Linked DNA regions of Homo sapiens: region 2 is linked to region 1. Evidence: promoter capture Hi-C in 16 types of primary human blood cells and fetal thymus (Javierre and others, 2016). All regions are on one chromosome and are shown on one strand. Each heading gives the region's core, a stretch centred on a gene start or on the middle of the fragment in contact. The rest is flanking DNA. Distances are from core to core; before and after follow the strand shown. Region 1 holds the start of KLF14 (KLF transcription factor 14). Region 2 has its middle 23 kb from the start of CEP41.

Region 1 (5,830 bases), core at 1,951-4,450:
CCTGCTTAGCCTTCATTAGGAAATACTGAACCTCTTCAGGGTCATAGGCCATACTCTTTTGGTCCTTTCTAAGGACCCCTCCCTCACTTAGTGTAGGAGCACTTAGTACAGTCCCAATGTCATGTTTGTATCATTCACTCTCTTGAGGATGCTGGAATGCCCAGGACCAGAAAAAGAAGGGAATTCACACTGAAAATTAACCTAGCAGGTCCAAAGAGAAAGTCTCTCCTAGGATGCCAAAAAGTCATTCTCACTTTATGTCCACATGGTGTGAAGGGAGGGAACGTAACCAGTTAAGAAAAGGGCTTTTGGGTCAAACACAATAGGCAAAGGGTTCAATCAACATGTGAAGGTACACAGAAGCAATACAGAATAGGGAGCGAGGGAGGGACTAAGATCCCAGAGAGGAGGAAGAGATGGGGGTAATCAAGTGTGAGGGAAAGAGTCACTTAGCAGGCCAGACACCTAAGTTCTAGTCATGGCTCTTCCCAGCAACCTAGCATATGACTTTGAGCTTATCTAGTCTTCAGTATCCTCATCTGCAAAATAGGGGAAAGCAATTTGTTTAACCAGATGCCCGTTAGGGTCCTATGAGATTACAGCATCTTCCCCAAGTGTCAGTGATGGACTATTGCAAAATATTCAGGAGGGGGCCAGAGGGGATCTCCCAGGGCAGGAAATGCCTTTCAGCCTCATCTCTAAAGAAAGGGTCACATATATACACATTCATACATACACAAGCAGAGTGGTCAGTGATTTCATCCACAGCAGCAGAGACACATATAGAAAAAACAAATACTGTTGATGTCTGATTCCTTCTTATCGGGAAAGGGGCCCTGAGGATATAACTTGGAGGGACTATATGGTCAGAGGAGAAAGTTCCTCCTATTTCATAATAGCTATCACCTTGCTACTCCTTCCTCAAATCCAAGGCAGCCAGCTCCTTGGAAGAAACCAGTCTGTTACCCTTCCCTCTCCCACCCACCAACTCACCTGTTTCAGAAACGAAAATCTGCAGACTCTGAGGGAAATAACCCCCTAGTTAGCCATTAGGAAATTAACAGAATCTACCACTCCTGAGATTACATAAGGTGGGGCAGCTGTGTCCACACGCCTCTATTTCCCTGAAAGTTATCAATGGTTATGAGCGGTCTTGTTTCGGGCCCCGCCCAAACTTAAGGTCGCTTGAGTTTTCTCTCTGAGTGAAGGGGGAACTAGTCTGGACCACCCTTTTCTTGCTGGTGCCTTTACGGTAGTTTTCAAATTGTTTAACCAATCTCAGCGTGAGAGTGAGCCAGGAAGTTACCATCCTCAAGTAGGAATCCAAATGGGGAGAAGGGCTACGACGCAAGCGCAGGGTTCCAAATCATGCAACAGGACCTGCAAACAGACTCACACCCCAGACATCAAGAAGTATCTCCCAGCCACACATCTACATGGAGCTTATGTGGCCTCTCCTAGCAGAGGTAGCTGGGGCAATTGGGGGATTGGAGGGCATAAGCCTCCCATCAACCTGGGATCCCTATTTAAAAGATGCTAAAAATAAATTAGTAAACATTGCTGTTTACAGAAATAGAAATCATTTCTGTTTCCAAAGGCCTCTCACCATCCCAGTCCTGGACATTTCCAAGACTGCCACCCCTGACACCCTCTCCAAGGTCCGCCCTGGTGGATGGGTGAGACACCAGAGTCCTTTGAGACTGGGAGCTCCTCAGGCATCTGAGAATTCCAGTTTCACATCCCTGGTTCCAGGGAGGGGAGAATCTTCAGTACTCTGGAGAGTACGGGAGTTCATCCCTTCTTATCAGTTCCTGGGGGCTGTCTTGAGGCAACCCCCACTTTTAGGATGATATACACGTTGCAAGAATTCCCGCTATTTTCCGGCCCCCAGTACCTCCCCAGAGTCCACATGTCTGCCTGGACCCACCCTCAGAGCAGAGGAACCAGTCTGTGCCTTGGTGTAATGACTCTGGGAAAGAAGGATGGGCAGAGAGAAAGCAGGGACAACGGCCTGGGGGATCATCCTTGAGGGTAAGACTGACAGCAATGACTGTCCTACAGGCAGGTGGTGAAGCTGGGCGCCGGGCCGGGACCGGAGCCGGAGGCGGAGCTTTCCACCTCGCTGGTGAGTGGCGGGTCGATGCGGGGAGTTCGACGACGTCCCCGGTACTCGATCATATCTGGATGATAGGTTGGGTGGCGGCGAGCATGCTTGGTCAGGTGGTCGCTCCGGGAGAACTGCTTGGGGCAGAGGGGGCAGGAGAAGCGCTTCTCGCCCGTGTGCGTCCTGTAGTGGCGGGCCAGCTCGTCGGAACGCGTAAACTTCTTGTCGCAGTCGAGCCAGTCGCAGGAGAAAGGGCGCTCACCCGTGTGGGTGCGCTGGTGGGACTTGAGGTGCGACGACTTGTAATAGGCTTTGGTGCAGCCCGGGAAGGGGCATTGGTGGCGCTTGGCAGCAGGTGTGACAGACCTCCTCCGGGGCGCCTGATCCGCGGCGGGGGCGGGGCCTGCCCCTAGGGCCCCTCCAGAGAACCCACCAGAGGCTGCTGGTGCGCCCGGGGCAGCAGGCGCGCTTGGGACGGCGGGCGCATCGGAGGAGCTCTCGGGAGCGCAGACCGCCGCGGCGCCGGAGGCGGGAGCCAGCTCGGAGCACGGGGTCTGGACGGAGCACGGGATCGGGTCGGAGAAGCCGGACGAGGCGCGTGGAGCTTCCCCCGAGTTCTCCCAGGAGCCCTCGCCAGAGCTGCCGCGCAAGTCCGCCCAGACGCTTGCAGCCAGCAGGTGGGGCGCGGCGCCGCCCGCGCCGGGGCTGGGGGCGGGGACCTGCGGGAGCTGGGGGACCGACGCGGGCCCCGGTGGCCCCGGACCCGGCAGAGCGGACTCCGGCGGCGCCGCACCCACCTCCGAGCCAGCGGCTCCACCCGCGCCCTCGGGGTCCGGCGGGCGGCGGTGAACCACGGCGCCCGCGGACATGGACACCAGGCACTCGGCGGCGAAGTAGTCCAGGCACGCCACGGCGGCCGACATGCTGGGACCGCCCGGCCGCCGGCGAGCGCCGTCCGAACGCGGCCGGCCGCGGGCGACGGAGTTCCCGGGAGCGTCCGTCCCGCAGCCTCGGAGCGAGAAGCAGGAGGCCGGGTGCTCGCCGCCTGCCGCCTGCTGCCGCCGCCGCCGCCGCAGCCGCCGCTGCCGCCGCCGCCCGCGCGGAGCCCGCCCCGCCTGACGCGCCCCTGACGCACCGGAGCCCGCGGGGGCGGCAGAGACCCGCCCCGGCCCGCAGGACACCCCCTCGGAACGCGCGGCCCCCGGCTAAGTCATGTTTAACAGCCTCAGAAATTATCTTGTCTCCGCGTTCTTTCTTCTGCCGGCGAGCCAGGTAATGGTAACAGAGCGAAACTCCCCAGTCGGAACTTCTGGGTTGCAGCAGCCTCGCCCCCCCTCCCCGCAGCCCGCCGCCCGCTGGTCCGTCGCCAGCTGGGTGTCCCGCGGAGTCCCAGAAAGTTTTTTTTTTTTTTAAGGAAAAAAATTGCTAATACCTGACATGTCTTTCGGTTCATAATTGCGATTGTTAGCGAAGTGGTCTCGAATTCCATTTCACTCCCCGTTCGCCGCTCTCAGACTAAATTGCAAATATCCCCAAGTCTGTAGCAAAAAAAGTTTTCTCATTGAGCAGGTCAACTGTGAACCCGGGGCCGGGAGCAGTTCCCTAAATAGATCCGCTACGTAGCCATTAATTAATAGCATCTCGAACCAGAAACAGTTTTAACCTTGGAAAAGCAAAGAATCCTCTCCCGGTTGAAATTGAAACTTAAAATCCTTTGAGTAACGATTTAACTATTCAGCCAACGAAAGAAAAATGCATGTTTAAACTGCATTAACCTGTCACTGGCATCCAAACAAATTTAAACGCTGAGATATAAATTATAGTCTAGCGGCGAGATAAACACATTAAAATGGACTCCCACCATTTTAATAATAGAAAGTCACGTTTCCAATTAGGCATTATCTTGTAATTTGCTTTTGACGAAAGTTAAATGTAAGGAAATGCAGCACATGATATAGAATGCTCATATGGTGTTTTGTGATTGTGGAGGTTTGCCTTTTTTATAATCAAATGCATGTACGGTTTCTTTTACGTGTCTTCATTGCTCTCATTTTTTCCCTCGTTTTTCTTTTTAAAAATGTAAAACTACATAGAAAAACAAACAGGATAATTTCTAAAAATAGTCATATCTTAGTTTTTGATGTATACAAGCTTTTATATGAGTGAATTGTGTGCATTTTATTTGTAGTTCTTCAGTACTTTTTCTTTTGAAAATTAATACGTATGTATCAAGAATAACATACGTTCATGTATTTACTGCCTAGGGTAATCAAATGTGAAATTTTTGTTATAGTTGTTTCATGTTTTTATTTATATTAAACATTACAGATAGAGTTGAATGTCACTTTGTTTCCCTCCCCAGTTCCATTCACCTTTCTCCCTCTTCACTTTTCTAGGTAATTAGTATTATAAAGTGGCTATTTAATCTGCATTTGTTTTGATACCCGTATTACCTAATTATACATGTAAATATATGTATATCTCCATGCTTATTTATTAAAATTTTTAAGTAAATGGTTCACTAGTATACATATCATTTTGCAACTTCTTTCCCTCAATATGATTTTGACAGCTATCCAGGTTGACACCTATAGAATCTACTTTATTCATTTCAGCAGTTTTTAAATAATATTGTCAGTGTTATTATTTTTAAGGCGATTCCATTGCAAAACAGTTAATTTTTCTGAAGTTCCTCTAGACGATTAACTCTTCGTTAATCTACACATTAAAATCTATCAGATAGAATAATTTACTAGCTGTTTTAATTTTATTATTTAGAAAAAATGTGAAGATATTTAAAATGCAGAGAGAACATTACAAGCACCCATATACCTGTCTCATATAATGAATATGTTAACATTTTGTTATATCTCCCTCAGATCTATTAAGTATTCAACATTTCTGATAAAATTGAAGGTCCCCTTGTACTGCCCCCAATACCATTCTCCACCCTTTTCCCCAAAGGCAAACACTAACATGAATTTGGTATGTAACTTTCCAGTCTGGGTTTTACAATTTAACTGGATGTGAACCTATAAAATGCAGAATATTGGTTTATATGATTTTTTTAAATGTACAAACATGGTATTAGGCTGTGCATATTATTCTTGGACTTATTTTTTTCATTCATGGTATGTTTTTATTTTTTCTCTTCGTGTTGATAAATATAGATCCAATTCATTCATTTTAATTGCTATAGTGTGGATCCATGCATACAAATGTGTCCTGTTTATTCATTCCCCTATTGATGAATATTAAACTGCTGCCAATATTTTGGTACTACTTGTACATGTTTCCTTTGCACATATGTGAGAATTTCTCTATGTATCTACCTAGATGGGGAATTGCCGGGCTCCACACACATTTTCAGTTTTGCGAGAGACTGCCAAATGCTTCAATTTGCACACCCATCAGAAGTGTGTGACAGTTCACGTTTCCCTCACATGATCTTCAACACTTTCTAGATTAAGATTTTTATTATTCCTGCCAATTTGATTATTTTAAAAAACAGTATCTTGTTGTCTTATTTGAATTTCCCTCACTGCTAGCAAAGTTAAGCATTTTTTCCCCATATGTTTGTTGGTTATTGAGGTTTCCAAGTCTGTGATTTGTTTTTTCACAGTCTTCATTCATTTTTTTCAGTAGATCGTGTATGTTTTATCTTTTTTCCTCCTGATTTGTAGGAATTCATGCGTGTAAACATTAAATATATTGTCTCAGTCTGTG
Region 2 (5,830 bases), core at 971-3,470, 270 kb before region 1:
GATGAATTTTATGGCCACCTTAGTTATTGACAGCAGCAGCAGATGACTCAGGAACTACTGCAAGAATGGAAAACTTGGGGAGCCAGTCTAGGATTAAGAGTGGATGTAGGGATGACAGTCGAAAGGACTGAGCATGGCTCCCCAACAAATGCATAGAGGTTTCCCCCAACAGTGTCTCAGGTATCGCTTGGATTCTTGTCTCAGGGGAGTTCTTAGTTCAAGCTGATTCCTCCTGTGTTACTATAAGGCAATCACTAGATCCTCTTCCCACCTGCTCTGGCTAGCAGAGGAATTAAGGCCCACCTCCAGGCTCTTGCAGATATTTTCCATTTATCTTTGGTAAGAGCAGCCACATGACAATCCCTTTCTGGGCTTCTTGGGCCAAGATATGGCTTGCAATTTGTGGTACTGAGTTCTCTGGTTGAAGAAGATGCTCTGTGATAGTCTTCCAGGTGTCTGCATCTTGGCTGAAACTGCTTTGGAGGTTCGGGGAAAAAGACTCATCAACTTCAAGGATTTAGGTGAGTGATTAGAGAGAGACAAACAGGTAAGTCTTGCCGCCTAGAGATTAGGAAGATGAGGTTCTAAGGATTCAGGGTGACTGTTAAATGCAAGGTTTGGCATGATCAAGAGCCTTCTTTGGATTCTTTTGGGTAGGCTGAAGACAGGAAACACATTTCACTAGCTTTCCTTAAGTTTTTGGAGGAGAGGAACACCAGGCAAGCATTCTCCACATGTGGGGCAAATATGTAGATGTTGCTCACTGAGAAAATAAAACACAACAAATCCCAGAATCCAGTATGATCACCATAGCAATGTAAACCCTTTCTATGAAAGGAATGTTTCAACAAAGTAGTCACGAAGCAAGGGCGATGTTTTCCTCTGAATGCCTGTTCTCACCCTCACATGCAATTATGCAGGCATAGGCCAATGATAGGCAGGAAATTTGTTGATGAGTGCACAGCTCTTTCAAAAAAAAGCTGTGATTAGGTGTGGGGCAAATCAGCAGGTAGGGTCAAGCTACTCATGATAAGCCTGTATTGAACTAGATTCACCTGGAGGGAGACTTGTTTAAAAGGTATTTTCAGAGTACCTACAAAATTGCCTCATTTATGTTTTTTTCTCTCTTATTTCATTGATGTATTGAATTACATCCACTGACTTTAAAATGTTAAGCCAATCTTCCATTTTTGGGATAATCCCCCTTGGTCAGTTTTATTTATTGTTGCATTCAATTTATTAATATTTTGTCTATGTTTATGTATGTATGTTCATAAGGGATATTGGCCTGGAGTTTTATTTTCTTGTAATGTTTTTGGTTTCAGTATCACTGTATTGTTGGTCTCATAAAATGAATGTTTTCCCACCTCTGTTTTCTGAAACAATTTGTGTAAGCTTGGTATTATTTTTTCCTTGAATATTTAATAGAAGTCAGGGAAACCTCTCTCCTGTTCGGAGTTTCTCTTATAGGAATATTGTTTACACTTGACTTTATTGAGAATTTACACCCTTAAATTGTACCCATTTTAAGCATACCATCCAATGAATGTTGATAAATGTATATACCCGTGTAACCACAACTACAATCAATTCTGTCATCCTTATAAGTTCCCCTATGCTCTGGTCCAAGCAATATACATTAACCTGGTCCTAGGCTACCACTGGTCTGCTTATGTCACTGTGGATTAGACTTGCATTTTCTAGAATTTCATTTATATGAAATCATATGGTATGGTTATTGTGGTTCATCATACTGTTTTTAAGACTTATCCATGTTGTTGTAGGTATTAGTACTTAGTTACTTTTTATTGCTAAGTGTGGACATACTACAATCTGTGTATTTATTACCTGTTAATTGACCATTGGGCTGACTTCAGATTTTAGCTATTAATAAACCTACTATGAATATATATGTACAAGCCTTTGTGTGGACATATGTTTTTATTTCTCTAGTGTAAATAGGAATGGAACTGTTGGGTTGTATGGTAAATATACATTTAACTTTGTAAGAAATTGCCAAACTGTTTCTAAAGTGGCTGTACTATTTTATATTCCCATCCACAATATATGAGAGCCACAGTTTCTCAACACCTTCTCCAACACTCAGTATTCTCACTTTTAAAAATTGTAGTCATTCTAGTGGGTGTGTAGTAGTAAATTATTGTGGCTTCAGTTTGCATTTCTCTGATGACTTATGATATTGTACATCTTTTTGTGTGTTTGTTGGCTGTGCATCCTATTTTGTGAAGATCTCTTCAAACCCTTTGTCTATTTTTAATTGGGCAGTTTGTTTTTTTAATTCATGAGGTTTAAGAGTTCCACATATATTCTGAATACAAGTCGTTTGTCTGATACATGTTGTGAATACTTGCTTTTTTGGGGTATCGGTTATTATAAGTTGTATTTTTCAAGGACTTTCTCCATTTCATCTAGGTTTTCAAATTTACCAGCATAAAATTATTCATAATGTCTTTTTTTTTTTTTTTTTGAGACAGCATCTTACTCTGTCACCAGGCTGGAGTGCAGTGGTGTGATCTCAGTTCACCACAACCTCTGCCTCCTGGGTTCAAGCAATTCTCCTACCTCAGCCTCCCAAGTAGCTTGGATTACAGGAACATGCCACCACACCTGGCTAATTTTTGTATTTTTAGTAGAGATGGGGTTTCTCCATGTTGGCCAGGCTGGTCTTGAACTCCTGGCCTCAAGTGATCCACCCGCCTCAGCCTCCCAAAGTGCTGGGATTACAGGCATGAGCCACCACGCCTGGCCTCATAATGTCATTTTATTATCCTTTTAATGTCTGTGGGATCTGTGGTGGTAACTCTTCTTCACTCCTGTTATTAGCGATATGTGTTCTTTATCCCTTGATCAATCTAGCTAAGGGTTTGTTGGGTTTTTTGATGCTTTCAACGAAGTATCTTTTTACTTTGTTTATTGTTTTCATTATCTGTCTCTTTTCTCCTTTGTTAATTTCTGCTCTTTGTTATTTCTTTACTTTTATGGATTATGAGCTTATTTGCCCTTCTCTCTCCAGTTTTTGAAGGTGGAAGCTTAGGTTAATGATTTCAGATCTTTTTCCTTTGGATGAGGTATAAGCTTCCCTATGAGCACTGCCTTGGCTGCATCCCAGAAATTTTCATATGCAGTATTGTATTTTCCTTGTCATTTAATTCAAAATATGTTTTCATTCTCTTCATGATTTTATCCTTGATCCCAAATTATTTATGTTTGTTTAATTTCCTTTTATATGGTGTTGTGAAGATTATACAAAAGAAACTTGAACTCCCGTTGGCATTTGATTCAGTGCTAGATAGCTTTAAGTCTTAGTTCCTGCCTGTGTTTATTGCCTCCTGCAGTACCCTGATAAAGCTCACTCACCCTCAGGTCTCATAAGCACATGTGCCCTCTTGCTGCCTCTTTGAAATTTCATGCTAGGTGGAACCTCTTTTAAATCTCATGGTAGCAGGACGACTTTCTTTTTATAAACCATTGCACATTTGCTATTCACTCTGTCTGTATTCTGGACTTTGTCCCAGAGAGAGCCATCCTCTCCACCACTCACTTTGGGACTTCTACTCCTATGTGAGTAATTCATATTTATTTGATCATACCACAGAATTACTGTCATGTTGACATCCAAGCATAAAATTGGAGTGTCTCTATGCCATGTGGAATTGCTATAACAAGCTTTATGAGTTCTATTTTAATGTCTTTGTGGTCAGAGAATACACTCTGTATGATTTCCATCCTTTTACATTTATCGAAACTTGTTCTGTGGCCCAACATAGAGTTTGTAGTGGTGAATGTACCATGTGAACTTGAAAAAAATAAAGAGCATTCTAAAGTAATTGGGAATATTCTCTACAAATGTCAATTAGGTCAATTTGGTAAATAGTGTTGTTCAAGTATTTTATATCTTAACTTCTCTTCTGTCTATGTGTTCTATTAATTCCTGAGAAAGGCTGAGATCTCCAACTATAATTGTGAATTTCTCTAATTCTTTTAGTTCCATTAATATTTGCTTCATATATCTTGAAGCTCTGTTATCAGGTGCAAATACATTCAGTTTTGCTGTGTCTAGATGAACTGATTATTTTATCATTATGAAACGTCCTTTCAGCAGGATGAATTCTCGAATGACCCACAAAATGTCCTTCGTCTCTAGGGTACATGAACTGAATAATCTCTAGGACTTTCAATATGATGGAGTTTATTTCCAGGATTAAGTTATGTTATATGGGCACTAGTGATCTTAAGACTGAAATAATTGGCCAGGCACAGTGGCTCATGCCTGTAATCCCAGCACTTTGGGAGGCCCAGGTGGGCGGATCATGAGGTCAGGAGATTGAGACCATCCTGGCTAACATGGTGAAACCCCATCTCTACTAAAAATACAAACAAATTAGCTGGGCATGGTTGTGTGCGCCTGTAATCCCAGCTACTCCGGAGGCTGAGGCAGGAGAACGGTGTGAACTCGGGAGGCGGAGCTTGCAGTGAGCTGAGATCGCGCCACTGCACTCCAGCCTGGGCAACAGAGTGAGACTCCATCTCAAAAAAAAAAATTGAAAGAATTATCTGGGTAGGTCTGTCCTAAGTATATGAAAGCAGAGAGTTTTCTGCAGCTGGTCACAGAACAAGAGTCAAAAATTTGGAGCTTGAGGATTCAATGTCCTGTTGATGGCTTGAAGATGGCAAGGACCACATGTGGAGGACTGTTGGTAGCCTCTAGGAACTGAGAGCTACTCCTCCTTGACAGCCAGCAAAGAAATGAACTACTTGGCTGGGTGCAGTGGCTCATGCCTGTAATCCCAGCACTTTGGCAGGCCGAGGCAGGCAGATTGCATTAGCCCAGGAGTTTGAGACCAACCTGAGCAACATGGCAAATCCCCGTCTCTACTAAAAGTATAAAAAATTAGCCAGGCATGGTGGCACATGCCTGTAGTTGGAGCTACTCAAGAGGCTGAGGCAGGAGAATCACCTGAGCCCAGGAAGTCGAGACTGCAGTGAGCCATGATTGCATCCCTGTACTCCAGCCTGAGCAACGGGATTGAGACCCTGTTCAAAAAAAAAAGAGAGAGAGAGAGGAACCCAGTCATACTACCACAAGGAATTGAATTCTTTCAAGAACAAGAGTTAATTTGGAAGCAGATGTTCCCCCAGAACTTCCAGGTGAGAATTCAACCTGGCTGATACATGCCACACTGGACTTGCAATATACAAAACTACAAATTAATACATGGGATTGTTTTAAGCTGCTAGGCTTTGGTAATTTGTTATGCAGCAATAGAAAATTGATACAATCCTTCTTTATCTCTGTCAATACTCCTTATTCTGAAGTATACTTAATTTGATATATAGTCACCCTAGATTTCTTATAATTACTTTTCACATGTTATTTCTCTTTCCCTCTTTTTATTTTAGTCTCTTTCTGTCTATGTCAAGTGTGTTTCTTGTAGCCATCACAGAGTTGGGTCTGGTGTTTTTATTCACTGTGATAATTTCTGCCTTATAATTGAATATTTTTATTTCTTTATATTTAATTACATATATGGTTTAGCTTATGTCTACCACTTTGCTATTACTTTTCTATTTGTTCATCTTATTTTTTTCTTTTTCTCATTTTTCACCCTCTTTTGTTTTAATTGCTTATTTTTTAGTGTTTCATTTTATTTCCTCTATTGCATTACTAGCTATGGCTCTTTGATGTTTCTGTGGCTGTTCTATGTATAATAATATCCATCTTTACCTTATTACACCATGTTATAAATCATATTCTATCCCATTAAGTATGCCGCTGTATCTGTCTATATTCCCCTTCCGACCTTTGTGC

What was found. Contacts are between HindIII fragments. The CHiCAGO score rates a contact against its expected background, and 5 or more counts as called.
Region 2: a fragment that was not itself captured here is called in contact with the fragment with the promoter of KLF14 in region 1 in 1 of 17 cell types (endothelial precursors); the score reaches 5.3 in endothelial precursors.

Annotation. Positions count from the first base shown.
Region 1 is chr7:130,731,007-130,736,836 of GRCh38, forward strand. KLF14 (KLF transcription factor 14) reads right to left here and starts at 3,201. Exons shown (of 1, transcript NM_138693.4): 1 at 1-3,201. The coding sequence starts at 3,027. The coding sequence ends at 2,056. It overlaps LOC105375508 (a long non-coding RNA gene), which reads left to right and starts at 3,258. Exons shown (of 4, transcript XR_927978.3): 1 at 3,258-3,376. RefSeq lists an enhancer at 2,272-2,809 and silencers at 2,705-2,864, 2,935-3,014. The HindIII fragment of the contact is 4,510 bases long and covers 1-4,253 here.
Region 2 is chr7:130,460,661-130,466,490 of GRCh38, forward strand. No RefSeq gene overlaps it. Among named protein-coding and RNA genes, the nearest start is that of CEP41, 23 kb to the left of the region's middle. The HindIII fragment of the contact is 1,655 bases long and covers 1,394-3,048 here.